2 separate regions of the Homo sapiens genome follow, and region 2 is linked to region 1. The links are contacts of gene promoters, found by promoter capture Hi-C in human tissues and cell types (Jung and others, 2019). All regions are on one chromosome and are shown on one strand. The core of a region is centred on a gene start or on the middle of the fragment in contact, and the rest is flanking DNA. Distances in the headings are between cores, read along the strand shown. Region 1 holds the start of POU3F1 (POU class 3 homeobox 1). Region 2 has its middle 66 kb from the start of MACF1.

Evidence for each region. Contacts are between HindIII fragments. The study calls those that stand out against the background at their distance.
Region 2: a contact is called between a fragment that was not itself captured here and the fragment with the promoter of POU3F1 in region 1, in 1 of the 25 tissues and cell types used here (heart left ventricle).

The regions. Positions count from the first base shown.
Region 1 is chr1:38,044,877-38,048,459 of GRCh38, reverse strand. POU3F1 (POU class 3 homeobox 1) reads left to right here and starts at 1,667. Exons shown (of 1, transcript NM_002699.4): 1 at 1,667-3,583. The coding sequence starts at 1,717. The coding sequence ends at 3,072. It overlaps MIR3659HG (MIR3659 host gene), which reads right to left and starts at 1,326. Exons shown (of 5, transcript NR_168386.1): 1 at 846-1,326. RefSeq lists enhancers at 363-863, 864-1,364 and a silencer at 1,277-1,606. The HindIII fragment of the contact is 7,503 bases long and covers 1-3,583 here.
Region 2 is chr1:39,136,811-39,140,393 of GRCh38, reverse strand. It overlaps a transcript of MACF1 not described here. Among named protein-coding and RNA genes, the nearest start is that of MACF1, 66 kb to the left of the region's middle. RefSeq lists an enhancer at 1-244. The HindIII fragment of the contact is 5,998 bases long and covers 1-3,583 here.

The DNA.
Region 1 (3,583 bases), core at 418-2,917:
CTGTCCCAGCCGCCCTGGATCGTTCCAATGGCAGCTGCCACCTGAGCCCCCAGCAACTTTTTTCAATCTAAGGATTTATTCCACAGACCTGATTTGCCCAGTGGGGCCCTAGGTGGGCCCCCAGCTCAGTTCTGTGATCTGGGACCCCAGGGCCCTGTAAGCTATAAATCCACTTGAGGCTAGATCCAGGAGAGAAAAGAGGGAGGACTGGCAGCTGAAGACTCCCTGGGACCCAAGCCTCGGTGTGGGGAAGAGGAGAAAACACAGCTCAGTACCCTCAGCCTGGGGCCCAAGGTCGGGTAAGAAGGCACAAAGGAACTGCAGTGAGGTCCGACTCCACTCAAGATCCTTCAGGGAGTCCTCAAGGGCTGGGGCGTGAGGAGGTAGCTAAATTCCACTGCCCACCTTTCCAACAAGGCCTCCTCAATCTCAATTCCCTTTTCAGCAGCTCCAGGCAAGTCCGGGCAAACTCTAGCCCAGGGCTCTTAGCGAGGCTGGACAGCTCCCGGCCTGCACGCCGGATTTCTGGAGAGCCCGAGCCCCTTCCCTGAGCCCATCCTTCTCCTCTCCCGGGGCGTGATCCCACCACGACCACAGCCGATGAGCCGTTCAAGCTGGGAGAAGGAGCGAGAAGGCTGCAGCGGCGCAGGTCAGATACCCCTGGGCCCAACGTCCACCCCCAACTAGCGCCCTTGCCAGCAGCGTTTTCCCCGGAGCCACAGTCTCCACCTCGAGATCTTCTCCTTCTGGAACCCCGGAGCGCGGCCGGGTACCAGGGGCTCGCGTAGGACTGTAGAACCGCTGCCGCCCGCCGTCCCAGCCCCAGCTGCCCGCGCGGTACTCACCTGGGCCTCAGTGCCCGGGAGAAGGTGTGCCCGCGCGAGGCGTGAAGCCAGAGTCCGTCCGACTCCGCCCGCACCGGACGCGCTCTCAGGGCAGAGGAGGTCGGCGGAGTTGTGACGCTGGGACTAGAGGAAGGAGAAGGAAAGCCGAGACGGGCCGGGCAGACGCGCCGAGGAGCGCCCAGTGCACGCTGGCAGCCGCGGGAGGCGAGGCGGGCGCGGTGAGCAGTCGCGCCGGAACCGAGCCGCGAATCCGCGCCGCCTCGCGCTCGCAGCCGCCAGGACCCGCGGGAATCCTGGTCCGCCGGCAGCGGTACTGAGGAGGGAGGGGCGCGGGGCTGAGCCGCTTCTCGGAGCCCGAGCGCCTCCCGGAGCCGGCAATCCCTGCTGCCCGGGCGGGATGCGGGCGGGAATTCAGCTCGCGTGGAATGTGGGACCGGCCGGGCTCGGAGTCTCCAGCGCTGGGGGAAAGCGGGGCCCACACAGCCAGGACGAGAGGGGGTGCGGTCCCAGGGCCACCCCCGCGCCACTCCCCACGTGGCGGCCGCGCCCCCGGGGCGTGAGTGTGTACGCGGACGGTAGGGGGGCCGTGAATGAAGCCCCAGCGGCCAATCAGCACGGCCGGCGCGCGGGACCCCGGGAGCGACGCCCAATGGAGAGCTCTGGGCGGCCGGGCAGGGTGGCGGGCGGGCGCGCGGGGCGGGGGCCGGGCAGGGGAGGCGGGAGGCAGCTCCGCGGGCAGCCAATGGGCGGCGGGCGGGGTGGGGCTCCGGAGCGCCGAGCGGGTCGGGGCTTTAAGCCGGCGGAGCGAGGCGGCGGGGCCCGCAGACGGAGCGGAGCGGCGGCGGCGGCGCGGCGCAGGGCGCGGGGCGGCATGGCCACCACCGCGCAGTACCTGCCGCGGGGCCCCGGTGGCGGAGCCGGGGGCACCGGGCCGCTTATGCACCCGGACGCCGCGGCGGCGGCGGCGGCGGCGGCGGCCGCGGAGCGATTGCATGCAGGGGCCGCGTACCGCGAAGTGCAGAAGCTGATGCACCACGAGTGGCTGGGCGCGGGCGCGGGCCACCCCGTGGGCCTAGCGCACCCCCAGTGGCTACCCACGGGAGGAGGCGGCGGCGGCGATTGGGCCGGCGGCCCGCACCTAGAACACGGCAAGGCAGGCGGCGGCGGCACCGGCCGAGCCGACGACGGCGGCGGCGGCGGAGGTTTCCACGCGCGCCTGGTGCACCAGGGGGCGGCCCACGCGGGCGCGGCATGGGCGCAGGGCAGCACAGCGCACCACTTGGGCCCGGCCATGTCGCCCTCGCCCGGGGCCAGCGGGGGCCACCAGCCCCAGCCGCTCGGGCTGTACGCGCAGGCGGCCTACCCGGGGGGCGGCGGCGGCGGCCTGGCCGGGATGCTGGCGGCGGGCGGTGGCGGCGCGGGGCCGGGCCTGCACCACGCGCTGCACGAGGATGGCCACGAGGCGCAGCTGGAGCCGTCGCCGCCGCCGCATCTGGGCGCCCACGGACACGCACACGGACATGCACACGCGGGCGGCCTGCACGCGGCGGCGGCGCACCTGCACCCGGGCGCGGGCGGCGGCGGCTCATCGGTGGGCGAGCACTCGGACGAGGATGCGCCCAGCTCGGACGACCTGGAGCAGTTCGCCAAGCAGTTCAAGCAGCGGCGCATCAAGCTGGGCTTTACGCAGGCCGACGTGGGGCTGGCGCTGGGCACGCTCTACGGTAACGTGTTCTCGCAGACCACCATCTGCCGCTTCGAGGCCCTGCAGCTGAGCTTCAAGAACATGTGCAAGCTCAAGCCGCTGCTCAACAAGTGGCTGGAGGAGACCGACTCGTCCAGCGGCAGCCCCACCAACCTGGACAAGATCGCGGCGCAGGGCCGCAAGCGCAAGAAGCGCACGTCCATCGAGGTGGGGGTCAAAGGCGCGCTCGAGAGCCACTTTCTCAAGTGCCCCAAGCCCTCGGCGCACGAGATCACCGGCTTGGCAGACAGCCTGCAGCTGGAGAAGGAGGTGGTGCGCGTCTGGTTCTGCAACCGGCGGCAGAAGGAGAAGCGCATGACCCCTGCGGCCGGCGCGGGCCACCCGCCCATGGACGATGTATACGCGCCTGGGGAGCTAGGGCCTGGCGGGGGCGGCGCATCGCCACCCTCCGCGCCCCCACCGCCCCCGCCGGCGGCGCTGCACCACCACCACCACCACACACTGCCCGGCTCAGTGCAGTGACCCCGCGGGCCGGGCCCCCGCCGGCGCGCTGCAGGGCGCGGGCGCGCAGCCCGCCCGCGCGGCCTGGACTCTTTTTGTTCGGTTGCTTTGGATTTTACAAAAAAAAAAAAAAGCCCAGAAACTTTCGAACAAAACCAAACACCCGGACGACCCTCTCCGGTGAGCGGCGAAGACAGCCCGGTAGGCTGCGTCGCCCGAGCCCCGGGAGAGAGGAGCGAAGATCCGGAACTCGCCAACTCACCCCGGGCATCCTGCCCGCCGCCTGCTCTCTGCCCCCATCCCCTCGACGACCCCCGCCCCTGCCCCCCCGGGCTGTTCGGGGCCGGATCCCGGCAGCGGCCTCCCCAAAGCGACAGGTAACGCAGTGCGGGGTTAGGGATTCCCCGGGAGAGAGGACGAAGCGAGGAGAGTTCTCCATCCCCTCTCCCCGCGTGGACTCCTGAGCCTGCGGGTCCAGGGTGGGGGGCTGTCACTTTATTCGCTACACGCCTCTTCTCTCCTATAAGGATGC
Region 2 (3,583 bases), core at 384-2,883, 1.1 Mb before region 1:
TAAGGACAGTACAAAGTAGTAGGCCAGATGTGACATTTACACAAGTAATTCTAACCCATAGTAGCAAGTGATAAGAATCGTAAGATAGCACTGTTTGGTGGAAAAAACATGGGATTTGAGGTCATAAGATTTAGATTTATGCTAGGTATGATGGCTCATGCCCGTAATCCCAGCACTTTGGAGGACTAACGCAGAAGGATCATTTCAGGTCAGGAGTTCAAGACCAGCCTGGGCAACACAGTGAGACCCCATCTCTACAAAAAACACAAAAATTTAGCTGGGTGTAGTGGCATACACCTATAGTCCTAGCTACTCAGGAGGCTGGAGTGGGACAATCTCTTGAGCCCAGGAGTTTGAGGCTGCTGTGAGCCATGTTTACACCACTGCACTGCAGCCTGTGCAACAGCCAAGACCTTGTCTCTAAAAAAAATTAAAAAAAAAAAAAAAGATTTAGTTCTAATTATGGGTAACCTCAGGCAAGTTACTTAATCTCCTTAAGCCTTAATTTCCTCAGCTGTAAAACAGGAGTGATGAAAAACATCTGTGAGGTTCCAATGAGCTAATACATGTGAAAACATTTTGTAACAGACTCTGAATGTTGTCAGTTATTACTATTACTTTTAAGTGTATTTCTTTCAATAATATTATGTCAGTTCAGAAAGATGATATAACTTGTATCTGAGATAATCAGGGAAGGATCCACAAAAAGTAACATTTGAGATGGATATGTAAGGACCAAATATAATGTAGAAATTAAAGGAAAATGCAGGCACAGGATACAGCATGAGCAAAGGCATGAAAGCAGGAAAGCTAGGAAAAAAAAAAGCAGAAAGCACTAGTTCATTTTAGCTGGAATATAAAGAATAGTGGCAAATTTGGGAGGCTGAGATGGGAGGATCACTTGAGGTCAGGAATTTGAGACCAGCCTGGCCAACATGGTGAAACCCCATCTCTACTAAAAATACAAAAATTAGCTGGACGTGGTAGGGGACACCTGTAATCCCAGTTACTTGGGATGCTGAGGCAGGAGAATCGCTTGAACCTGGAAGGCAGAGGTTGCAGCGACAGAGCGAGACTGTCTGAAAAAAAAAAAAAACAGTGGCAGATAACATTTTAAAAAAGGTAAAGGGTAAACAAGAGGAAAAAAAATCTGTTCAATTTCCCCCCATAAGCAAGCATCTTTGGTAATTCAAGTAGGAATAAATGACGAGACAGTTGATTAAAATTAGTTTTAGTAGTTATCTGTGAATTTGAAGTATTCAGCATGCCTTGTACTCCATTTTCATAGGGTGATTAAGAGCCAGCTACATCATATGCATTAACATGGAATACTCAAAATTACGTAGTTTGTGCAGAAGCCAATTTGAAAATGATACTGTTATTCCTCATCAAAGCTTCTCCAGACAGTTCATAAAAATTATTTGGCCTAGGCCAGGCGCGGTGGCTTACGCCTGTAATCCCAGCACTTTGGGAGGCCAAGGTGGGTGGATCACCTGAGGTCAGGAGTTCGAGACCAGCCTGGCCAACATGGTAAAACCCCATCTCTACTAAAAATACAAAAATTAGCCGGGCATGGTGGCACTCACCTGTAATCCCAGCTACTCAGGAGGCTGAGGCAGGAGAATCACTTGAACCTGGGAGGCGGAGGTTGCAGTGAGCTGAGATTGCGCCATTGCACTACAGCGTGGGTGACAGAGCAAGACTCTGTCTCCAAAAAAAAAATTATTTGGCCTTTAAAACCTTTCAATATCATTATTGAAATGAGAGAAAGCTGTGTTCATCTAACACCAGCCATTTTTCTTTTTTTTTGAGACAGAGTCTCTCTCTGTCGCCTAGGCTGGAGTGCAGTGGCGCGATCTCTGCTCACTGCAAGCTCCGCCTCCCAGGTTCACGCCATTCTCCCACCTCAGCCTCCAGAGTAGCTGGGACTACAGGCACCCGCCACCATGCCCGGCTAATTTTTTTTGTATTTTTGGTAGAGACAGGTTTTCACCATGTTAGCCAGGGTAGTCTCGATCTCCTGACCTTGTGATCTGCCCACCTCGGCCTCCCAAAGTGCTGGGATTACAGGCGTGAGCCACCGCGTCCAGCCTACCACCAGCCATTTTTCAAGTGTTTGTTAGGACCTCTACTCAAATACAACATGAAGTACACTCATTTTTGTTTTGTTTTGTTTTGATTCGTTGTTTTTGTACAAGAAAGTATTTCAACAAGATCCTTGAGTGACAGGTAGCACATAATCCAGAGTAGCACAAATTTGTTGAAATAGAAATTAAAGCTTCCAATACTGTTTCAGACTTTTTTTTTTTTTTTTTTTTTTTGAGATGGAGTCTCGACTGTTACCCAGGCTGGAGTGCAGTGGCACAATCTCGGCTAACTGCAACCTCCGCCTCCCAGGATCAAGCAATCCTCCTGCCTCAGCCTCCCTAGTAGCTGGGATTATAGGCTCGTGCTACCATGCCCGGCTAATTTCTGTATTTTTAGTAGAGATGGGGTTTCTCCATGTTGGCCAGGCTGGTCTCAAACTCGCGACCTCAGGTGATCCACCTGCCTCGGCTTCCCAAAGTGCTGGGAATACAGGCATGACCCACCACGCCTGGCCTCAGACAAATTTTTTTAAGTTTTGTATGTTCATATAGTTGAATGAGATAATGCAATACTTTTAATTGAGCAATCCTTACTTGCTTGCCAAAGAGCATCTGAAGGTAAAAAAATAAAAAATAAATAAATTGGGGCACAGTGGCTCATGCCTATAATCCCAGCTCTTTGGGAGGCCAGGGCAGAAGGATGGCTTGAGCCCAGGAGTTTGAGACCAGCCTGGGCAATAAAATGAGACTTCGTCTTTACAAAAAATTTAAAAATTAGCCAGGTGTAATGGCACATGCCTGTAGTCTCAGATACTTGAGAAACTGAGGTGGGAGGATCTGTTGAGCCTGGTAGACACGTTACAGTGAGCTATGATTGTGCCACTGCACTCCACTCTGTGCGACAGAGCAAGAACCTGTCTTTAAAAAAATAAAAAAAGACTGGGTATGGTGGCTCACGCCTGTAATCCCAACACTTTGAGAGGCCGAGGCACACAGATCACTTGAGGCCAGAAGTTCGAGACCAGCCTGGCCAACATGGCAAAACCCTGTTTCTAACAAAAATACAAAAATCAGCCAGGCGTGGTGGTGTACATCTGTAATTGCAGTTACTCAGGAGGCTGAGGCATGAGAATCTCTTGAACCTGGGAGGTGGTGGTTGCAGTGAGCCAAGATCGCACCACTGCATTCCAACGTGGGCAACAGAGGGGGCTCTGTCTCAAAATAAAATTAAATTAAATTAAATTAAAAAAATAACAAACTTTGAAAAAAGTCAATTTTTAGTTGACAAAGGGTAAATATAACTTGGTCATGTCAAATATTTTATATTTAAAATCCAACCTTCAGTTTTGCAGAAAGTTGCATGAGGAAAAAACATGAACTTCCAAGAAACAAGTAAAAGTTAAACTTCAAATTTCAAACTGAACACTCTCACGCTTGTCTTTATTCTACTGTCATACAAGTGCCCCCTACTGTCGTTCATATTTAATCTGTTTCTC